3 separate regions of the Homo sapiens genome follow, and regions 1 and 3 are each linked to region 2. Evidence: promoter capture Hi-C in human tissues and cell types (Jung and others, 2019). All regions are on one chromosome and are shown on one strand. Each heading gives the region's core, a stretch centred on a gene start or on the middle of the fragment in contact. The rest is flanking DNA. Distances are from core to core; before and after follow the strand shown.

Region 1 (2,814 bases), core at 165-2,664, 520 kb after region 2:
GTGTGTGGGTCTAGTACCCAGAGGAGACCCCCACAGCCCCAGGCAGGCTGGCCCCACACCCAGTGGGTGGGAGCCCGGGTGGGGAGGGGGCGTGGGCTCCCGGGGAAGCCCGGGAAGACTGGAGACCCTGGCTGGCTTCCCCTGCAGGGAGGGTACCTGGGCTGGCGGTGCCCCTTGGAGTCAGGGCTGCTGGCGCGGCAGCTCGAGCCTCTTCTGAGGCCTTCCTCTTGGTGGGGAGTCTGGGTGGCGGTACCAAAGCCTTGGGGACGGCCGGGGGCTTCCTCCCCTTCCGGGGCTGGCTGAGGTCCACATCTGCAGCTCAGGGGCAGGAGCAGGGTCCCAACCTCAGGGTTTTCTCCAGGGGTAGGGTGGGCCCCAGAACTGGACACCTTGGCCAGACAGGTGAGGCCTGGCCCCTTTGCCTCTTAGGATCCAAGACGGTCCTGGAACATCACCCACGGGCTCCTCAAACACCACTCCGGTTCCAGTCCAGCTGGGCTGAGCAGGTGACAGCAGCTGCCCCAGGCCCCCAGCATGGCTGAGTCCACCAGGACCCACCTTTGGGGAAGCTGTCCAGGATGGGCTGCAGCCGGCCATAGCGCTCCAGGTTGTAGTCCTTGAACAGCACCCTCCAGAAGTCCAGGATGGCTGTGGAGTCCTGGGTCAGCAGCCAGGACAGGAGGGCGTGGAAGGCCTGGGGGCAGCCCTCCTTTTCCTTCAGATGAAGCGTCTCCTGCAGTGGGGTGGCATGAGGGTCCCTGCCATGGTCCCCCACACCCTGCGGCCTGCCCATCTCCATCATGACTAGAGGGTGGAGCTCCCAGGCAGAGGCGCTGGCGACCTGGACAGCTCCACGCCCATCTCCTCGGCTTGTGGTGGAGTCAGGTGGTGGTGTAGGGGTGTTGAGGGTGGGGCTGGGGGAACCTGGAGGCCATTCCCTTGGCTTGGGGGTGAGGTGTGGGGACGGCTGGGGGAAGGGGACCAACTTCTAACTTGTCATCAGGGACGCCCCTGGCTCCTTGTGGGGAGGGAGTTGGGGAAGGCTGGAGGGGCTTGGGGATCTGGAGGGGCGGGGTCCTCCTGGAACTTCCCCGGGGACTATCCCTGGCTCACAGGGCCTGGGGGCAGCGGGGGGCGGGCGGGGAGCCCACCTGAAACTTGTCCTCGGGGACCACGTCGTGGTCAGCCAGCGCGTGCAGCAGTGGGAAGGCGCTGTCCACGGCCACCGCGATCTCCGTGCGGTGCAGCCTCAGAAGCCGGCGTAGCGCCGCGTCCGTCGCCATGGGGTGGGCGCGGGGACCCGGGGCTGGGGCGGACGCGGTGGGTCCCGGGACACTGGCAGCCCCTCGCTTGGCCTCGGGTCCCGGCGGGGCTGTGGGGCCTCCGCGCCGGCTGTGCGCCCGCCCGTCTCCCCGGTCTGCGAGCCACGCGCGCCGCTGTTATACCCCCGCGACCACGCAAAGAGCAAAGGCCGCTCCGCCCCGGCGCCCAATCAGGGCCAGGGCCTCCCGCAGGGACACTTCCCTGTGATGGAGGCGCTGCTGTCCCTCCCTCGCTCTCGGGAAGTCTCCGGGCCTGGCCTGACTCACCCACCAGGGCAGCTGCCTTGGGGGCTGGGGACAGAGACTCGCTCTGTGCGGGACTCAGAGAACTCTCACTTCCGAATGTGGCCCTGTCCTGCCTCGGCGAGGGCCCTGCTCGAATGGGGCAAAGCCGAGACAGGTGCCCTCGGCGGGGAGGCTCGGGTCTCAGGGCCCTGGCAGGGGCTGCCCAGGGTGCACCGGCCCCTCCCAGTGGCCGGCAAGAGCCTCCATGGAGGCTGGATCGGGGTGGTGTTCCTGGGGGACCTCCACACAAGCTGAGAGCCCCTACTCAGGGGCCCGCCTGGGGCTGTGGGAGGAGCCCGATGGAGGCTCAGTCTGATGCAGGAGACGGTACGGCAGCCTGGGTGTTGCCAGGGAGCTCCTGACCTCACCATCTTAGGCTAGCTGTGTGACGCCAGGCAAGTCCTTTCCTTCTCTGAGCCTCGGTTCCCTCATCTTTAAAAGGGGCACACTCGCCTGGGGATTGAGGCTCGCATTGACCCCCTCCTTCCTTCCTCCAGGTGCTTTAGAAGGAAGGCGGCCAGCCCCACAACGGGGGTCCTGAGTGTGGCCCTGAGTGAGAGCTCCCAAAGGGTCTTCCTAGGACCAGTGACAGAGGCTGAGGGATGCTGTGGCCTGGACAGGAGCTTCCGGGGGCATCTGGGAAGGTGTCCGGGAGGGGAGCTGCAGTGGACAGGAGCCGAGGGTCCCAGGTGGACGTGAGTGGGGACAGTGCCCCCAGTAAAACAAGACCAGGTGCAGAGGCCTGGGGCCTGCAATGATGCTGAGGCTGTGGTGGCCCCGCAGGCATGGCCTGGAGGGGGGGTGGCCTCAGTGGGAGGCCTTGGTAACAGTCCCCTTGTCTGTGCGGTCAAGCCAGGGAAGCAGGCCCTGTGTGCAGGCTGCAGAGAACCACGAGAGGTCTCTGGGCACGAGTGTTCCCACTGAGCCAGAGAACGAGATGACCTGGCCAGCATGGATTAGGGCTGAAGGGTGGACGAAGGTACCAGGAAGCCTGAATCCAGGCAGCACTGGGCTGGGGGCTAACTGATGCAGTGAGAGACGCCACCAAGATTCCCACGTGGGCAGGCGTGCCGTTTGCTTTTGGGCAGCCAGAGTCCAGGATGGAGAGCGGCAGACACCTCTCCTCTAGACCAGGGGTCGGTCTCGGTTTCTCCTACCGCCTTCAGGCCCAGGGTCCCCCTGAGCGTTCTGCACGTCTGAGATTGCT
Region 2 (3,053 bases), core at 305-2,804:
TGAATTTTGGGGAATTTTCCTACACTATGCATACTTGTGAAGTTTGTATTGTTAAATTTCATTTGATTTGACAAATCCGTGTTAAGAGTATACGATGTCCAGGTACAGAGGCTGCCCCAGAAACAAGACAGAAGTAGGCAGGGACCCATGGCTCTCATGGAACACGCTTTTGGTTAGAGGCAACAGATAAGGGTAATACATTTATAGCATGCCAGTAAGTTCTATAGTACGGTGTGTTGAGTAGGTGTTGCAGAGAAAAAGGTATGCGGTGAAGGCCGGGTGGTGACGGCCTAGGCCACACTGAAGAGGCAACATTTGAGCAAAGACTGAAAGAGCAGGTGGGAAGAGTCGGGGACAAGAGCCGCCAGAAAGTGTTTCCGGGGAGGGAAGAGTCAGGGACTCTGAACCAGGCCAGGGCAGCTGGAGTGGAGTGAGAGGGAGGGAGGGTCTGGGAGTATGGCGGGGTGACCGGAGGCAGAGCAAAGCACTGCAGGACTTCAGCTTTACTGAGTGAAATGGGCGGAGCAGAGTGTGAATGTGATCAGACTTCTTTTCAAGGGATCATCTGCAATGCTGGAAAGGAAAAGACAAATGATAGATTATTGCAACAAACAGCCAGGCAAGAGATGCAAACTTTTTTTGCAAAGGTGTGTGTGTATATACATCCTTGCACCGGACAGCCACGAAGCACCTACTGTGCTGTGAAGTCAGTAAGGATGTGGGTTAAAATCGCTCACCTCACAGCGGGTCAATCGGGAAAGCACACCCACTCACTACAGCCATTATGGGAAAAAGGGCTCGCCCCTTACAGGATCCTCAACTGTGGAGAGGCCGGGAGCCCACGCGGGGCGCTGGGGAGTCTCTCAGCACCCCAGGGGTTCGGGCAGGGACCTGAGCCGCGCCCTCTCTCCCGGGGGTGCCCTGGGGTCGAGGCTGCTCGGCAGAGCCGGCGGTCAGTTCGAGCCGCGGGCCCGAACAGGGCTCTCCCCGCGGCTCTCTCCCTCGGAGTAGAAGGTGCTGGACCCGAACTCCAGCGGAGCCGCACAACACGTGGAGGAAAAGCGCCAGGACAGCTAACCTTCCCACCTTTTCAAACCTGAAACCCGGCCGGCTGGGGACGGTTGGAATGTTCAGTGCGTACCCGCACCTCAGGCCCCTTGTCTCCAGCCCCAGACCGCCCCGCGACCATCCTCCCCACCCCCCGACCTCTTATCTCGTCCCCGCCCTGTCTCCCCAACCTCCATCCTCCCCTCCACAACCCCCGTCCTCCCGCCCTTCGGCCACGCGCGGCTGGCACAGAACAGGCAGTTAGCGCACACACACTGGAACAGGCGCCACCGTTCAGGAAGTCTCTACAAGACCAGGACCCTGAGGCCTCTGGAAGTGCCGGGACCGAACCAACCCCGCAGAGCGACTAAGGCGAGGGCAGGAGCCAAGAGAATCGTAGCCGCGGTCGCGGGTTGAGCTCCCACCACCCGGACAGCGCGCCTCGGCGATCGCGCACGCGCCACGCCCCGGAAGAGTTCCTGGGCCCGCGACGGTGGCCCGGAAGCAGTCCCCGGTGTCGGGGCAGGAGGCACGCGCGCGGCTGAGGCGAGGTCGCTCGGCGCAGCTGTTGCGGGGCCATGGCGGGGACCGCGCTCAAGAGGCTGATGGCCGAGTACAAACGTGAGTCTGGGGACCCGGGCCGTCAGCAGCGTCCCGCGTTCCTGCTCCCGGGCCCGCGTCGTCCGGCGGGGCTGGGGCAGGGAGCCTGGCGGGGGAGCCGGGCCCGGGGCCTCCACCGTGAGCCCCCCTGTGGGTCCCGCGGAGTGCCGCGCCCTGCGCCCGCTGCCCACTCTCACGCGTGAAGTCGTGAAGAGAAGCCTTCCCAGCATCAGTAAAGGCAGCGCCGGCGCCGTGTTAGTTGAGAGCACACACAGTTGAGTCTTTGCGGGCTTGTTTTTTTCTCTTCTATTTTTTCTTTTCTTGGCAGCCTTGAGAACGTGCAGTGAGAGCTTGAGGAAGAAGGCCTGACTTGCTGCTGCGGAATTAGGAGGGAAAAGTGTATGCGTTAAAAGGGGAAAGGCTCGTTGGTGGAGCTTTGAAAGGTCAGATTTTGGCTTTCCCTCTAATGAAGGAAAAGGGTTTTTGAACAGTGCCACCTGTCACTCCTCCTAGGTAGTGTTGAGGAAACCTCTTGAGTGCTTTCCTACCCGGTAAATTAGATATTTCTAATGTCTGAGGAGAGCGAAGGGAGAAATGAGAACCTAGGAACACTCGGCATTCCATCGTTTTACACCGAATGCCCGCTTGGAAGAACTGCTGCGAGAAGTCTTGGAATACCATTGTGTTGAAAGCGCCAGGAGCCTGAGTCGCCGATGGAGACGAGATAGTAGCCGGCTAAGAGCAGGGCCTGAGTTCAGACCCGGCCTCTCTGCTTGTTAGCTCTTTGACCTTGTTCCTCTCTCTGTCTCTGCAGTTTCCTTGTCTTAAAAGGTTAAACTTGATACTGCAGGTGAAGTGCTTAGCAAAATACCTGATGTGTAACCCTTAATAAAGTTAGCTGCTGCTTTTGTAATTAGATTGAGGATAATTTTGGAAGAAAGTTAAGCTAAAAGAATGAATGTGAGAAAAAAAATAAGTGGTGAATATACATGTAGCTTGATTTCGTAAAACTATTGGTGACACCGCCCAGTAAGAGTTGATGTTTGGCTTAAGCAGACCAAAACGTTGCAAATACAGGCTCACTCACGTATGGTCATTCTTCCCTTGGTATCTGGAGGGGATTGGTTCCAGGCCCCGCTGCAGATACCAGAATCCTCGGATGCTCAAGTCCCTACTATAAGGTGGCGTGGTATTTGCATTTAATGTATGCATAGCCTCTCATAACTTTTAAATCATCTCAAGGTTACTTATAGTACCTAATGCAATGTAAGTGCTGCACAAATAGTTACACTGATTTTTTTTACTTGTATTTTTAAATCGTCATTTTTTATTGTTATTTTTTTCAAATATTTTGTATTCCTGGTTGGTCGAATCCATGGATATGCAGCCGCAGATACACAGGGCCT
Region 3 (2,902 bases), core at 329-2,828, 940 kb after region 2:
CCACTCCATGAAGTCACCTTCAGAATATTTAAGGCCCCTACACCTTCTAAGGCCAAGGGGCCCTGTTCTGTCTGAATGTCAATGGCATGCAGCTGCTTTTTAGACAATGTCCTCAAGAAGATACTTAAGACTAACCAGAAATGGATACAAGAAGCGAGTTGTAACAGGCACAGGCTAACGCCGAACTCTGTGGGGGAGGAGGATTGGTTGGAAAGAGGGAGGGGGGGCGGCAAAGAAGTGGCCAAATCAAGAGAGTGCTCAGCATCCTCGGGAGACCCCTCTGAAGCTTTCAAACTGAGAAGACGAAGTTCAGCAATTCCTAAGCGAGTCGAGTCGGAGCAGCCGCGCCTGCAATTTAAAAGCTGCAGGATCCTGGGTCCCTCTAGCAGCCTGGGCCCGCCGCCCGCCCCACCTCCCAGCCCCCAGCAGGCTCTCGGCGTTGGCTTTCATTTTTAATAAGAGCCGCATGCTCATCACCCTCTGTCTGGAGGCCAACAGCCCACATCTTTCTTCTACTAAGATCATGTTTCCCAGGAAAAAGAACCCAACTGCTCAAGTATTCTCCTAGACAAAGCTTTTAAAATTGTGCTTTTTTTTTTTTAAAGGTCTGGGAAGCCATTTATAAAAGCATTTTCCCCATGTCACTAAACTTCTCTCAAAGTTAAAAAAAAAAAAAAAAACACTGCACCATTTTTAACTGCCTTCAAATACTAATAACCCTCCTTTCCTAAGTACTTGGGACCAATGTTCCAAGGGTCCTGGGGTGGCCAGGAGTGGGTTTTCGCCCCCACGGCTCTTGCCCCCGGACTGACCCCATCCCCTGACCCGCCCGGTGCAAACGCGCCGCCGGTCTCCGGGCCGAACCCACAGCCAACCCCGGGCCCCGCAGCCCTCCCCGCGCGGAGCGGCAAAAGTGAAACTGCTCCCTTGGCCTGGGCGCGCGAGGAGGAGGCCCCTGGGGGGGGTCCCGGGTCCGCCGCGCCCCGAAACCAGGCGGCGGGCGCGTCCTGTCCACGGGGGAGCCGAGCGGGGCCCGGAGCAGAGTCCAGGACGGAGGGATGGGACGTCCCCGCGGGAACCCACTCGCCCTCCCTCGGCCCGGCCCGGGCCCCTCCCGGGCGCCCCGAACCCCCGGGCCTCCCCGCTGGGCCCAGCGCCACCGAGGCTGCTGCGGGAAGCGGCCGGGGCCTCGCGCTGGACCAGGCCGCCGGGGAGGCCGGGGTTGCGGGGGGCGCACAGGACCCGGGCCCAGACCTCCTCCCGGCCCCGCGCCTTCCCAGGCCCCGCGCCCCGCGGAGCGCGGCCGGCCCATTGCGGCGCGGGGCCCCGGGCGGCCCGAGGTCGGACGGCTGGGGCAGGGGCGACCTCCGGCGGCGGGAGGGCGACCTCGGGCGGCGGCGGGGCGTGGGGGAAGAGGGGGGCGGCCCGACCTCGGGTGGGGGCCTCGGTGCTCACCTGCAGCCGCCGCCACCTGCTCGTCGCGCGGGCGTCCCCGGCGTCGCCTCCGCGGCCCCGCTCTGGCCGCCGCGCTCCTCGGCCCTGGGCCCGGCCCGGCCCTGCGTCGGGGCCTCAGCGAGTGCGGCGCCCGCCGCCCCCGGCCCCCATCCCGCCGCCCTCCGCCCTCCGCCCTCGGCCGCGCCGCCGCCGCCACTTCCTGTGCGCGGCGATCCCACAGTTCCGCCGGCGCGCGCGGGGCGGCCGAGGGACACGCTGGGGGGACACGGGGGAAGGACGCGGGGGGGGACGCGGGGGGACGGCGCGGGGGGGGACGCGGAGGGGACACGGGGGCGACACGGCGGGACACGCGCGCGGAGAGAGGTGTGGGCCGAGGGCGCCGGCGGGGCCGGGCGCGGAGCCTGCGTGGGATCCGCTAACGGACGGGGCTGGGGCCCGGGCTGGGGGAGGGGGCGGGCCGGGACCGCGGGGGGCGCGGGGATCAGGGGGGTCGGGGCTGAACGGGGGGAGGCGGCGAAGGACCAGGCTGGGGTCCCGCGAGGGCTCCCCCGGACCGGGTCGGGGGCAGAGGGGGCCGGGGCGCGGGGTGGGGCCGGGAGGGGCCTCCGAGCTCTGCCTGGGCCCCGCCATCTCCCCTGCCGGGGTCTCCTGCGGGCGCCGGGGAAGTTTCGCGCGCGAGCTCCTGCCCTGGTCGGCCGGGGCTTAGGGTCGCCGTCAGGGGTCGCCGCGCGGCGGGCTCGGTGGGGACGGCCCTGCGCGCAGCGGCTCCGCGGAAGGATCGCGTTTCGGCCCACGTGCCGCGCCCTTGGACTTATTCATAGTTGGCACCCGGCTGGCAACACTGTATCGACACTTGACCGTGGCGGGGGTGGGGGTCGCCCCGGGGCTGCCCTGCGAACCCCCGCGGGCGCTGACGCCGTCCCCTCCAGACCGCGGAGCCCTCTCAGCCCCAGGACAGCGGCTGCCGTCCCCCCTCCCTTGCACCTGGCCAGCGGCCGATCCCAGAACCTGCGGAGGCCGCGCAGGTGCCGCTGTCAGGGCAGGGCCCGCTGCGGGCTCCGCCTCCTGCGCCCGGTACCTTGTGTGACCTGGCGCCTGCTCAGGTCCTCAGGCCCCGGCTGGACTTGCTGAGCTTGGGTGGGCTTCATTTGAAAACCATTTAAAATACCAAGTACTGGTACTGTCTACTGTGCCCCTTTTTTTCCTTTTTTTTTTTTTTATTTTTATTATTATTGAGACAGGGTCTTGCTCTGTCGCCCACCCTGGAGTGCAGTGGTACAATCATAGCTCGCTGAAGCCTTGAACTCCAGGGCTCAAGTGATCCTCCCACCTCAGCCTCCCAAGTAGCTGGGACCACAGGCACACACCACCATGTCTGGCTAATTTAAAAAAAATTTTTTTTGTAGAAATGGGGCCTCACGGTGTTGCCCAGGCTGATCTCGAACTC

Evidence for each region. Contacts are between HindIII fragments. The study calls those that stand out against the background at their distance.
Region 1: the fragment with the promoter of AIRE here is called in contact with the fragment with the promoter of UBE2G2 in region 2 in 3 of the 25 tissues and cell types used here (IMR-90 fibroblasts, hippocampus and mesendoderm cells).
Region 3: a contact is called between the fragment with the promoter of AGPAT3 here and the fragment with the promoter of UBE2G2 in region 2, in 3 of the 25 tissues and cell types used here (dorsolateral prefrontal cortex, liver and lymphoblastoid cells).

What each region holds. Positions count from the first base shown.
Region 1 is chr21:44,284,476-44,287,289 of GRCh38, reverse strand. AIRE (autoimmune regulator) reads right to left here and starts at 1,414. Exons shown (of 14, transcript NM_000383.4): 1 at 1,152-1,414; 2 at 559-733; 3 at 157-312. The coding sequence starts at 1,283. RefSeq lists enhancers at 1,935-2,536, 2,537-2,814. The HindIII fragment of the contact is 44,459 bases long and covers 1-2,814 here.
Region 2 is chr21:44,800,321-44,803,373 of GRCh38, reverse strand. It overlaps UBE2G2 (ubiquitin conjugating enzyme E2 G2), which reads left to right and starts at 1,554. Exons shown (of 6, transcript NM_003343.6): 1 at 1,554-1,668. The coding sequence starts at 1,626. It overlaps LINC01424 (long intergenic non-protein coding RNA 1424), which reads right to left and starts at 1,133. Exons shown (of 2, transcript NR_109928.1): 1 at 738-1,133. RefSeq lists silencers at 936-985, 1,486-1,705, 1,766-1,825 and an enhancer at 1,373-2,328. The HindIII fragment of the contact is 9,913 bases long and covers 1-3,053 here.
Region 3 is chr21:43,863,899-43,866,800 of GRCh38, reverse strand. It overlaps AGPAT3 (1-acylglycerol-3-phosphate O-acyltransferase 3), which reads right to left and starts at 1,578. Exons shown (of 10, transcript NM_020132.5): 1 at 1,456-1,578. RefSeq lists silencers at 820-1,139, 1,260-1,609, 2,160-2,519. The HindIII fragment of the contact is 11,781 bases long and covers 1-2,902 here.